4 separate regions of the Homo sapiens genome follow, and all the other regions are linked to region 4. Evidence: promoter capture Hi-C in 16 types of primary human blood cells and fetal thymus (Javierre and others, 2016). All regions are on one chromosome and are shown on one strand. The core of a region is centred on a gene start or on the middle of the fragment in contact, and the rest is flanking DNA. Distances in the headings are between cores, read along the strand shown.

Region 1 (2,707 bases), core at 134-2,633, 6.6 Mb after region 4:
GATAGGAGGGGCATTTCGGAAACAAACTCTATGTTACTTAGCAACTGCCTAAATAAGAGTGGGGGTCTGCAAAGCATAGAGTGAATGCAGATTGTGAACACTCAAATGAAACTAGTATTATTATTATGACACCACAGTTTTTAACTTGACTTACTGGTAGTGCTAAAAACACATAAAAGTCCACAAAAAGAGCAGGAGAGGGATGGGATAGGGAATTTTCTTATTCTGTTTTATTTTTCCAAGTGTTTCTTTAGATTTTCTAGACATTTATATCACCTACATTAGATATCATTTTGCCTTTTCCGTTCCAATTATTATATTTCCAATTGTTTATTCATTTCAGTAGCTAATATTTCCAACATGATATTCAGTCAGATGGGGACAACTGATATCTTTTTGTTCCTGATTTGAGCAGGAAATTTCCTTTCATTTCTCCATCAAGTAAGATGTTGGCTTTGAGATGGAAATTGTGTGTGTGTGTGTACATGTATCATTATATAATATATATTGCATATTGATAGGAAATATCTATTCCTATTGGGAAATTTTTAAAAATATAAACAAGTGCTAAATTGTTTTCAGATGCATTTTCCCTATCTTATTTCCTCTACTTCTTTCCTCTATCTTATTTCCTCTGCTTATTTAATGGGTTATATGAATAGATTTTATAATATTGGCCCAGTAAGCATTCCTGGAATAAACTCCACCTGGTCATGATGAATTAGTTTTTAATATGCTCTTGTGCTTTCTTTGCTAATTTTGGGGTTTTTTGTTTTTTAGTTTGTGTAATCAATATTCATAGTGAAACTGATGTGTTTTTTTGATTGTAATATTATACTCAAATTAGAAAATATATATTTCTAATATAACAAGGAAAATAAGTTTTCCTTAGTTTTCTGTGCACTGGGATATTTTAAGTAGCATTTGGATCTGGTCTTTAAAAATTTGATAGAAAATTTGGTAGAAATTCCCAAGGGAGTCTATTCTTCTATTTTTTTTAAATTATTAATTGTTAATTCTAATTATGTATACTTGTGCTTTCTACCTTTTTCATTTATTGTTTTAATTAGTATTTTTTCTTGTTTTCTTTCAAAGCACTTCTGCATTTACTAATTAACTCTACTGTTTTCCAACTCATTAATTTTTGGTTTTAACACTATCAACTTTTTTCATTCCACTTTTTTTGTTTATTAGCTTTGGAAATTGGATATTTAGTTGGTATATTTTTCATGTTTATTGTTATGGTAACTGCTTTAGCTGTATCCTAAAATTTCTGACTATGAATTTCCAAGAGAAAGTACCATTTTTCCTTTTGATTGCTTTAAATTAATGTCTGATTTTAAATCATGTAGGCAGAGAATGCTGTTTGTATATTTCTATTCTTTGGATTATTGAGGTCTTCTTTGTGGCCTAAAATGTCACTTTTGTGAAAATTCAATGTGCAACTTGAAAGAAGGTATTTCCTCTTAATAGTATATAGAATTTGATAGATACCTATGAGATCTGCCTTATTGATTATGTTATTTATGTCTTTTACATCTGTAGTAATATTTGTTACCTTCATTTTCTTGGATTCTGAGAGATTTGTTAAAATCTCCAATACTGTGTTTTGTCTGTTTATTCTCACATCTCCTATAGTTTCTCCTTCACAAAAATTGTTGATATATTATTTGGTAAGCAAGTATTAATAATAGTTACATTTTCATTATGAATGGTAGTCTTCAACATTGTAACGTGTTATTTTATTTTTAATGCTTTTTGATGCAAATACTACTAGTCAAACACTGAGGTTGTACTGAAGGAAACTGAGGCTGTTTATCTGAAATAGTATTACAGACCTTAAATTAATACGTAGCATTTTTAAACTAAGTGTCTTGTACTCTTTAATGATTTCAGCTCAGAACCTAGTGGCAGTAATGGGGGGAGCGATTGGCATGCTTTGTCAGCGCTTGAGTAAATAGCGATCAGCTGGGAAAGACATGCCTAACTGTATTTCTGAAGGATAGAAAGAAACCTAGAATAAATGTAAAGTTTTGATCTTCATATTTGCAAATAATTATTCTTCTGTAACACCAAGCTAAGAAGAGGTAAGAACAATAAATCACTTTATAAGGAAATCTTTAAATAAAGCTGTGTGCACATGGCCAGATAATGCTTTTTAAAAAGGGGATAAACTGAAAGATATAATAAAAGCCTTCTTTTTTTTTTTTGAGATGGAATTTCGCTCTTGTTGCCCAGGCTGGAGTGCAATGGCGCGATCTCAGCTCACTGCAACCTCCACCTCCCAGGTTCAAGTGATTCTCCTGCCTCAGCCTCCCGAGTAGCTGGGATTACAGGCGCCCGCCACCACGCCCAGCTATTTTTTTGTATTTTTTGTGGAGACAGGGTTTCACCATGTTGGCCAGGCTGGTCTTGAACTCCCGACCTCAGCCGATCCGCCCGCCAAGGCCTCACAAAGTGCCGGGATTATGGGCATGAGCCACTGCGCCCGGCCAATAAAAACGTTCTAATTAAATATGGTGTTATTGGGAATATCCAAAGAGTCCACAAAGCACCAAGCTCCCCAGGGAAGTTCCTGCAATGGAGCATGTTATAGATCTAGCACATTAAGGACTCAAATGGTTTTCAGAAAGTGACTATGAATTATGTTGTTCATCATAGAGAGTGGGGATCAGGTCTTGTTCATTTTTCTATCCCTTTCAGTGCC
Region 2 (2,700 bases), core at 64-2,563, 9.5 Mb after region 4:
CCCTTAAAACAGTGGTCCCCAACCTTTTTGGCACCAGAGATAGATTTCACGGAAGGCAATTTTTGCACAGATTGAGGGTGGCGGAGTTGGTTTTGGTATGAAATTGTTCCACCTCAGATCATCAGGCATTAGATTCTTATAACAAGCATACAATCTAGATCCCTCACATGTGCACTTCACAAGAGGGTTTGGACTCCTCTGAGAATCTAATTCTGTGGCTGATCTGACAGGAGGCGGAGCTCAGGCAGTAATGCTTGCTAGCTGGTGCTCACCTCCTGCTCTGCGGACCCGTTCCTAACAGGCCACCAACCAGTACCAGTCCATGGCCCTGGGGTTGGGGACCCCTCTCTTAAAATATATGTACTACATCTGCACATTCCTTAACTTGCTAATATCTGCATTTCTGATTAAGTAAAATATAACACTCATGGCTATCTCTTATGTATAAAAAAGAAAATAGCTCTGGAAATAATATAACTGTTCTTAGAAGGTCAGTTTATCAAAAATTACAGGTTTAATTTATACCTAAATATAACATTTAAAATAATCAGTTCTTTGGTTCTCATTTGTCCCAAAACAGGGGTGCCTTCACTCCATTAGTACCTATTGAAATATTTCATCATGGTGGGCAATAACTATATTTATGTTACATTAATGTATTGTACAACCCCAAAAGAACTTGATCTTTTAAATCAAAATTAAAGAAAAATTAATTAGATCTGTGTTGCCCAACCAAGGATAAAAAATTTTAGCTAAATAGTTAATATATTAGATTTTAACAATGTTAAAAAGCATTCTGCCAAATAAATGTAACTTCTATTCATATTTCATTTTATTCAATAGGCACATTTTAGAAAATGTTGGGTAACTACTAAATCCATGCAAAGAATATGAGAAAACTGATTTATATTTCTACACTTCTATTTTGTCTAGTAGGCCAAATTTTCTTTTTTTAGAGATGGAGTGTTGCTATGTTGCCCATGGTGACTCAAACTCCTAGGCTTAATCAATCCTCCTCAGTAGCTGCAAGTAAAAATTTTTATTTTAAATATGATTAAAATATATATATATAAATCTATAAACATCTTAATAAGATGCACAGATTTCTTGGTTCTATTATATCCTGAAAACATATGCATGCTCCGTTAACTTTTCACAACTCAGTGACTGACTAGAAGTCCTCTATCAAAGCAAACTACAAGTAAAAGCTTGGGTAAAAGAAAAGCTTTTGCCTCTTCTAGATGTGAAAAAAACATGGATGTCTCTAATAAAACAAACATCAACAAGGACAAATTTTGAAATAGTTAAGTCAGCAAATTATAAAAATACTGTTTAGGGTCTGATTTGTAGGCCTATTCCACCACTTTAAAATATAAATTCTAATAAGGACATTAAAGCTTGTTAATTAATTTTATTATGCCTCAATTAGGTGCTCAAATGTTTACTGGTTAAACGGAGTTTTAAAATTAATAGATTTCTAAAGTGAGGATTAAAAAAACTCTCATTCAACATTTTGAGGGCCAGGCACGGTGGCTCACACTGGTAATCCCAGCACTCTGGTAGGCTGAGGTGGGCAGATCACTTGAAGTCAGGAGTTTGAAACAAGTCTGGCCAACATGGTGAAACCCTATCTCTACTAAAAATATTATACAAAAATTAGCCTGGTGTGGTGGTGCACACCTGAAGTCCCAGGTACTTGGGAGGCTGAGGCTGGAGAATTGCTTGAACCTGGTAGGTAGAGGTTTCAATGAGCCAAGATCATGCCACTGCACTCCAGCCTGGGTGACAGAGTGAGATTCTGTCTCAAAAAACAATCAACACATTTTGAAAGCCAGTATCAGAAGGTGCTGTACACAATCTACTAAGCAGTCATTACAAAAAGGAATTTCCTAAGTGGCAGACAAACATTTCTACACAACTAGATTCTTCCACAACAGATTTTTTAACTTTGTTCTTTCTAATTAAAATGTACTGTTACATACACTACATTAAAACTTCCATTAGCACTTAATAACCTCTCGGTTGTGCAGATAGTTCAAATAGTTTAAAACTCATATATACCTCAACAAGTTGTGCTTTATTAAGTCCTGGTCTGGTTGGTAGCTTGAAGTGTCTTTTGTATCTCCTAAGTGTATTTACTTGTAATTGGTATAAATCAACCTAGAAAAAATTAACATGTATAAATGAGTTCATACAATTTGTTGAAAATTTATCATTGATATGTATAATAACAAACATTTTAACTTCAGCACAATAAAATTTACTTCCAAAATCAAAAAAAATTTAAAAAATTTATATAATCCAACATAAATTATTAAAGAATTTAATCTTTTGGGGATAAATAATATAAACTGAGGTCAAAAAAAGAGTAAGTTATGTGACAACAGAGCTGCAAAAATTGTCAATCTAAAATGTAACAATTCAAACTGTGTAAATGCATGTCAACTGGCTATATTTAATTTTGCTTTCATTTTCAGATTTCTCAAATGTTTTAAACACTTAAAAGATTGTTCATATCTTTTTATAAAGGCTTCAGAATGCACTACTTAGGATTTACATTAAGCATAAAAAACTTCCATCTACCTCTGGGGTATCAATATCTTGAACAGGTGAATCACCTCCATCATCATCACTCCCTTTTCTCTTTCTTCTGTTTCGAACACTCTGAATTAAGTTTTTATGATAATCACATATGTAAAG
Region 3 (2,700 bases), core at 37-2,536, 6.7 Mb after region 4:
TGGATGGTAAAGATCTAGCACATACTCCAGGATAGTTCCTCAGAAAAGGTTTACAGAATGAATGAATCATTCATTAAAACTTTTTTAGCCTAACAGAAAACACTTACATAGCTTCAGTTTTGGTTTTCTTTTTTAACCACATACAGAATACACTGGTTTACTTTATTAATAAGCATGTATATGAATAAACATTAAAAATATTACATAGTATCATTATCAAGATCTATCCCATATTTTACCATGTGTATGTATCCACAGGGCCTGTCACCTGGCTCTCTGCAGCCTCAAGTTCCTGAGCTCAAGCAATCCTCCCACCTCAGCATCTGGAGTACTTGAGAGTACAGGTGTGCACCACCACACCCAGCTATTTTGTTTGTTTGTTTGTTTTGTAGCGAAAGTCTCTCCACCTTGTGTTGCCCAGGCTGGTCTTGAACTCCTGAGCTCAAACGATCCTCCCGCCTCCACCACCCAAAGTGCTGGGATTACAGGCATGACCCACTGTGCCCTGCCAAGCAAAAAAAAACAAAAAACAAAAAACAAAAAACAAAAAACTGTGGCTGTAAAAATTTTTAATGGATTTTAATAATTAAGCTTACATATTTATAATTGCCTATGCCAACTTTGCAGTTGTTTTCATTGTGTTCAGATAGATCCCAAGTGACTAGATGAATGCGTGGCACATAATATGGACTCAATACATATTTGTTGAATTAATGAAGGAATTATGCCTACTAGGAGATTTTAATTAAGTGTGAAAATCTAACCTACACATCGTTTTCAAATATTAATGTTTACAAATACTTAATGCAATAATTAAGGAAATAGTTATGTTAAATTTTGTGGACATTCATTTCCATTTCAAAGATTTTTTTCCCCCATCTCTTCCAATTCCCAAACAAAAACTGTCCTTGGCCTCTGGAGTCTTCTCACACCACTCCTCAAACTAGACGACTGAAAATAGGCCTTTGGCTGGGCAGAAACCAACAATATTTAAAATACAAAACTTATGAACGATGACATAAGAAAAAAAAAGCTCTAAATAGGTTAACAGTGAGGCCAACTAAATCTGAGACTGAAAGCGCTCCCCAGACCGCAGCCACACCACTGGGACCCCAGCTTTGCCTCCCTCGATACCCGGCCCCGCGGTCCAAAATCTGAGTAAAGCGGAAGTACGGGCGGCTGCTGCGGCGCTTGCGCAGGCGCTGAGGTCTCGCCCCATAAGACTCCGCCCCGCCCCACGAGACCGCGCCGCCAGCAATAAGGCCCAGCCCCGCCTTCTGCTGTTGCCGCAGCAACCCAGAAAGCGTCATGGCTGCCGCCGGCCAGGAAAAAGGGTATTTGACACAGACTGCGGCAGCCCTAGACAAGTCACCGTCACTTTCGCCACAGCTAGCAGCTCCCATCCGAGGGAGGCCTAAGAAGTGTCTGGTCTATCCGCATGCGCCGAAGAGCTCCCGCTTGTCTCGTTCCGTTCTGCGTTGGCTTCAGGGTCTGGATCTCAGCTTCTTCCCCAGGAACATCAACAGGTGCTTGAGTAAGCCAGTCCTAGGCCCCCCCGGTGGGCGCCCCGCCTGCTTTCCGCCGCCTGCCAGGCCTCAGATTGCCTACCCTGGCCTGGCTTATGTTTCAAATCAAGACCCCCCCACCCACGTACACACACGAAAACACTATTAGGGAACAAGGCTTTAACAAAATACCACGATACATCTTGTTTATTCAATTAATCAACCAATCATTAAATTGTGGACAATATAGAATGCTTTGGTGACTACAAAAATATTAAAATAGTCAAAGCTTTTTCTTTAGTGATATTGGGCATTAATACTGGTAAGGACGGCCGGGCACAGTTGCTCATGCCTGTAATCCCAGCATTTTGGGAGCCGAGGCAGGCGGATCACCTGAGGTCAGGAGTTGAGTAACAGCCTGACCAACACGGTGAAACCCCGTCTCTACTAAAAAATACAAAAAATTAGCCCAGTGTGGTGGCGGGTGCCTGTAATCCCAGCTACTGGGGAGGCTGCAGGCAGGAGAATGCTTGAACCCGGGAGGCGGAGGTTGCTGTGAGTCGAGATTATGCCGCTGCACTCCAGCCTAGGTGGCAGGGTAAGACTCTGTCTCAAAAAAAAAAAAAAAAAAAAAAAAAAAAAATACTGGTAAGGATCAGTTTACCCTTTGTCGGAGATGGCATCTAGTTTGAGAGTTACCAACAAGTTTTTAAAGTTGCTGCTTAATTGTAGGCACTTTGTATGTAACTGGCAGCTAATATTTGCTCTGGGAATGCAAACTAAATTCTATAAAAAGGCAATGAATCTTTTGCAGAACTCTGGTTTAAAGTAGTCTCTCCTTATCAGAGAGGCATAGGTTCCAAGATCCCCAGTGGATGGCAACTGTGGATACTACAGAACCCTCTGTCAGAACACATTTCTGTTTATGTCTTCCATCCACAAATTTAATGCCTTTTTAAAAATCTTAACTAAGCACTTATCACACACTGTGGCTGAAAGTTTTTCAGTTTGAGGTGTGATGCCGAAACTATCAAGAATTTCTTTTTCTTCATATTTCAGGAATATGATTCATTCCTACCATTGTAACCATTCTTACAACTTTCTATTAAGTCAAGAACTTTCATCTTTTCACCTAAAGGAATAATTTTATGGTTTCTCTCTGGCATATCTGAATCACCAGCATCACTGCTCTTGC
Region 4 (2,901 bases), core at 8-2,507:
TCCACCAAGAGCAGTACATAATTTAATTATTGAATCTACAAGCTGGACCATGAGATGAAGAATGATGTGTCTGCTGTAGTGAGAAATTAGATAGAACCAACTGTTTACTCTCATCATTCTTCCTCCGTTAGGCTAAATTAATATAGTTAACAAGCTTTTGTTTGGAATAGCAGTTCAAATCTGGGATGTGCAGATCAGAACTGGCGATTATTACAGTAGCTGTTATTTATGGAGTGCTGACAGTCCCCTCAAGTCCCATGAATGAAACAGAAAGGGGTTCTTCTGTCATTCTCTGTGCTAGAACCACTGTAAGGGGCTAGACGTCTGCACAGGGTAACGAAGTTCATGAAAACCAGATTAAGTTGCTTGGGGCATACGACTCCAGAAATGTCACTGATGGTCTTTCCTATTGCCCTGTTTTTCTCATCTTTGAAACAACTGCAACAAAATGTGCACTATATAAGTGGGCGAGCATTACCAGGAGGTAACATGCAGGTGGGGTGCCTGTGCGGTGATACGGGTCGAGCAGGGCGCGGCAGGCTTTAGCAAACACCTCAGGCCCTTCCGCACAATTTGAGCAGAAACTGAAAGCCTGTCAGGCGCAGCCAAATGCAAATCTAGCTTCGAGGCACTGAGCCTCGAGGCACAGCGCCCCCGCCGGACCCAGTTCCCTGCCCCATCCAGTGTGTGAAACTGTGACCCAGCCACCGGCCAAGGGTCCCCACGGGGACGCTGCGACACAGCGGGCTCACTCCAGAGACCCAAACCAGGTCTCCCCACCTCCCGCCCCGCCAGTTTCACGGCACTAGATTCTTGGGGTCGTCTTTTAATCACAATCTCCATAGCCGTGTCTCTAAGCAGTTGATGGAACACGGATGGTGGGGAAAACCTCACCACCGCCACCACCACCAAACCAAGCAGCCCCCGACGGTCGTGCAGTCAGGCCCGGGAGCGCCCAACTCGCGGCCACCCAGCGCCACGCGTGACCCGGGCAGCGGGGCGACCTCGGGGCGGTCTGGCACCCGGGAAGTAGTTTGTGCTCGGGCTCTGAACACCGCCGGCCGGACCGCGGGCTGCGTCACGGGGACCGGGAGGCGTACGGCGACGCGGAGCAGCGCCTTTGCGGCGTGCGACCCGCCCCCGCCGTCCCTCCCTCCCTCCCCTCAGGGCTTCGGGCCCCCGGGGCCAGCCGCCGTCCTGCGAACGCGCGGCGCCCGGGCCGCTGCCCCCTTCCGGCCCCGCGGCGGCCCCGCCTCCTCCCCCGACTTCCTTCCCTGAGCACGGCGGCGGCGGGGACGAGCACCGGCCTGCGCGCGGAGCCGGCACCGGATGGTGGGCGGGGGCCAGCCGTGCGGGTACGCGGCCCGCGCGCCCCTAGCCACCGCCGCGTGGCACCGTCCCGAGCGCGTGGCGCGGGGCGCTGGCTGCCGGGCGGGGGCCTGGGGCCGCGGACGCTGGGGGCGCCTCGGCCGCGCTCAGCCTTTAGATCGGAGAATGCGGGCGGGGTGGGGGCGCTCGGGGTCCCCGCAGTCACTCCAGGGTCGATTTCTCGGCGGGCGCCGCGGCCTGTGCGAGGCCGGGCCCCTTGGAGTGCCCCGGGAGGTGGTGCTGGGCGTCTGAACACCACATCCCTTCCTGCGCCCGTGTGTGGGTTGGGAATGCCGGGTGTAGGCCCTGGATCAGAGCTGACGGGGTTGCGAGCGGCGTGGGGTGTGCCTGGGACGGTGACCGGATGTGTCTTCCTGAATCGTTGTATTCGAGCTCCAGTTCTCTCTGTTTCTACAGCTGGGCCTCAGTCCTCACAGGGCTCTAGTGGGCGTTCAGCCACACCAGGAGAAGGCGCCCAGGGGATTAACAGGACCCTTCCCTCTCCTGCTCTTCCCTCGCCCCCCATGGCTCCCCCTCCCTCCTATTTAGTAGGTACTTCTCCAGCACCCCACAGCGATGATGGATGCTGGCCCTAAAGCCAGGTGGGAAACCAGGCTGATTCAGCACCTGTCTTTTCCTGTTAGGGGGGTTGCCAGGCCTCTCAGATGTGGGGCAGCGTAATCAGTGGGTGACCGTGGTTCCCAGCACCCACTCTCCACTGCATCCTTGTCTTAGGCACTGCCGCCCTGCACTGTAGCAGATGCCTAAATAAAGTGTGGAGCCTGAAGCAGAAGTTTTGGGAGATGCTTGCCTTCCTTTAGACCACATTCCTCGCCTTTCTCAAGATTTCTCCGTGGTACCCACCCCGTTTTTGTGTTGTCTTCCTTCCTTGCCCTTGTTTCATTCCTTTTGAAAGCGACCACTCCCCTGAAGTCCTAGGACCCCCTTCGTGGGCTCTCCCTGCCGTAGACAGTCTCTGCTTGCCCCTGGTAAACTACGTTCCAAAAACCTTGCTTTAGGAGTAGCACTTGACGTTTTTCATAGTTTCTTCTCATGTAATTCATTACTCGGAGTTGATAACTTCTGTCCCATCTGGATTATTGAGGAGAAAGGGAAGGGAAAAATTATCTGGTTAATATCAGAGTTGGGAAGGCTTCAGATGTTTTCTTTGAATCCGTCTGGCATGGATGATAATCCTGTGTGGTTTAGGTTAAGTTACCTAAGTTCTCTGAGTCTGTGTAAGATGGGATGGCACTGTCTACCTTAGCTAGGAGTAAGGCTTGAGTGACATGATGTGTATAAACTTTAACAATGTCTGGAATCTATAGATGATCAATAAATATTTCTTTTTTCCACCCTCCTCCTGTGCTGACTCCGCTTTGTAAGGGAGACAGGTAAAGGACACAACAATTTGTAGGCTGGCATAAAAAATCCTATGAGAAAGCAGTAAATAGATGAAATATTTGGGAACGTGAAGCTATAGGTTTCAAATTCAAACTTCTGAAATAGGAAATTTCTTAAGTTTTTACTTAA

What was found. The method cuts DNA at HindIII sites, captures the fragments that hold promoters and counts their contacts. A CHiCAGO score of 5 or more calls a contact.
Region 1: a contact is called between a fragment that was not itself captured here and the fragment with the promoter of DCTD in region 4, in 1 of 17 cell types (total CD4 T cells). The highest score is 8.9, in total CD4 T cells.
Region 2: a contact is called between a fragment that was not itself captured here and the fragment with the promoter of DCTD in region 4, in 1 of 17 cell types (total B cells). The highest score is 5.3, in total B cells.
Region 3: the fragment with the promoter of SPATA4 here is called in contact with the fragment with the promoter of DCTD in region 4 in 6 of 17 cell types (non-activated CD4 T cells, total CD4 T cells, naive CD8 T cells and 3 more); the score reaches 13.9 in non-activated CD4 T cells.

What each region holds. Positions count from the first base shown.
Region 1 is chr4:176,315,429-176,318,135 of GRCh38, reverse strand. All of the region lies in intron 1 of SPCS3-AS1 (SPCS3 antisense RNA 1), which reads left to right. Among named protein-coding and RNA genes, the nearest start is that of SPCS3, 3.2 kb to the left of the region's middle. The HindIII fragment of the contact is 4,304 bases long and covers 1-2,707 here.
Region 2 is chr4:173,373,399-173,376,098 of GRCh38, reverse strand. SAP30 (Sin3A associated protein 30) reads right to left here. Exons shown (of 4, transcript NM_003864.4): 2 at 2,584-2,700; 3 at 2,062-2,160. Among named protein-coding and RNA genes, the nearest start is that of SAP30, 3.8 kb to the right of the region's middle. The HindIII fragment of the contact is 172 bases long and covers 1,228-1,399 here.
Region 3 is chr4:176,194,171-176,196,870 of GRCh38, reverse strand. SPATA4 (spermatogenesis associated 4) reads left to right here and starts at 1,286. Exons shown (of 6, transcript NM_144644.4): 1 at 1,286-1,526. The coding sequence starts at 1,309. The HindIII fragment of the contact is 1,203 bases long and covers 594-1,796 here.
Region 4 is chr4:182,915,742-182,918,642 of GRCh38, reverse strand. It overlaps DCTD (dCMP deaminase), which reads left to right and starts at 1,257. Exons shown (of 6, transcript NM_001921.3): 1 at 1,257-1,332. RefSeq lists a silencer at 916-1,625. The HindIII fragment of the contact is 3,169 bases long and covers 157-2,901 here.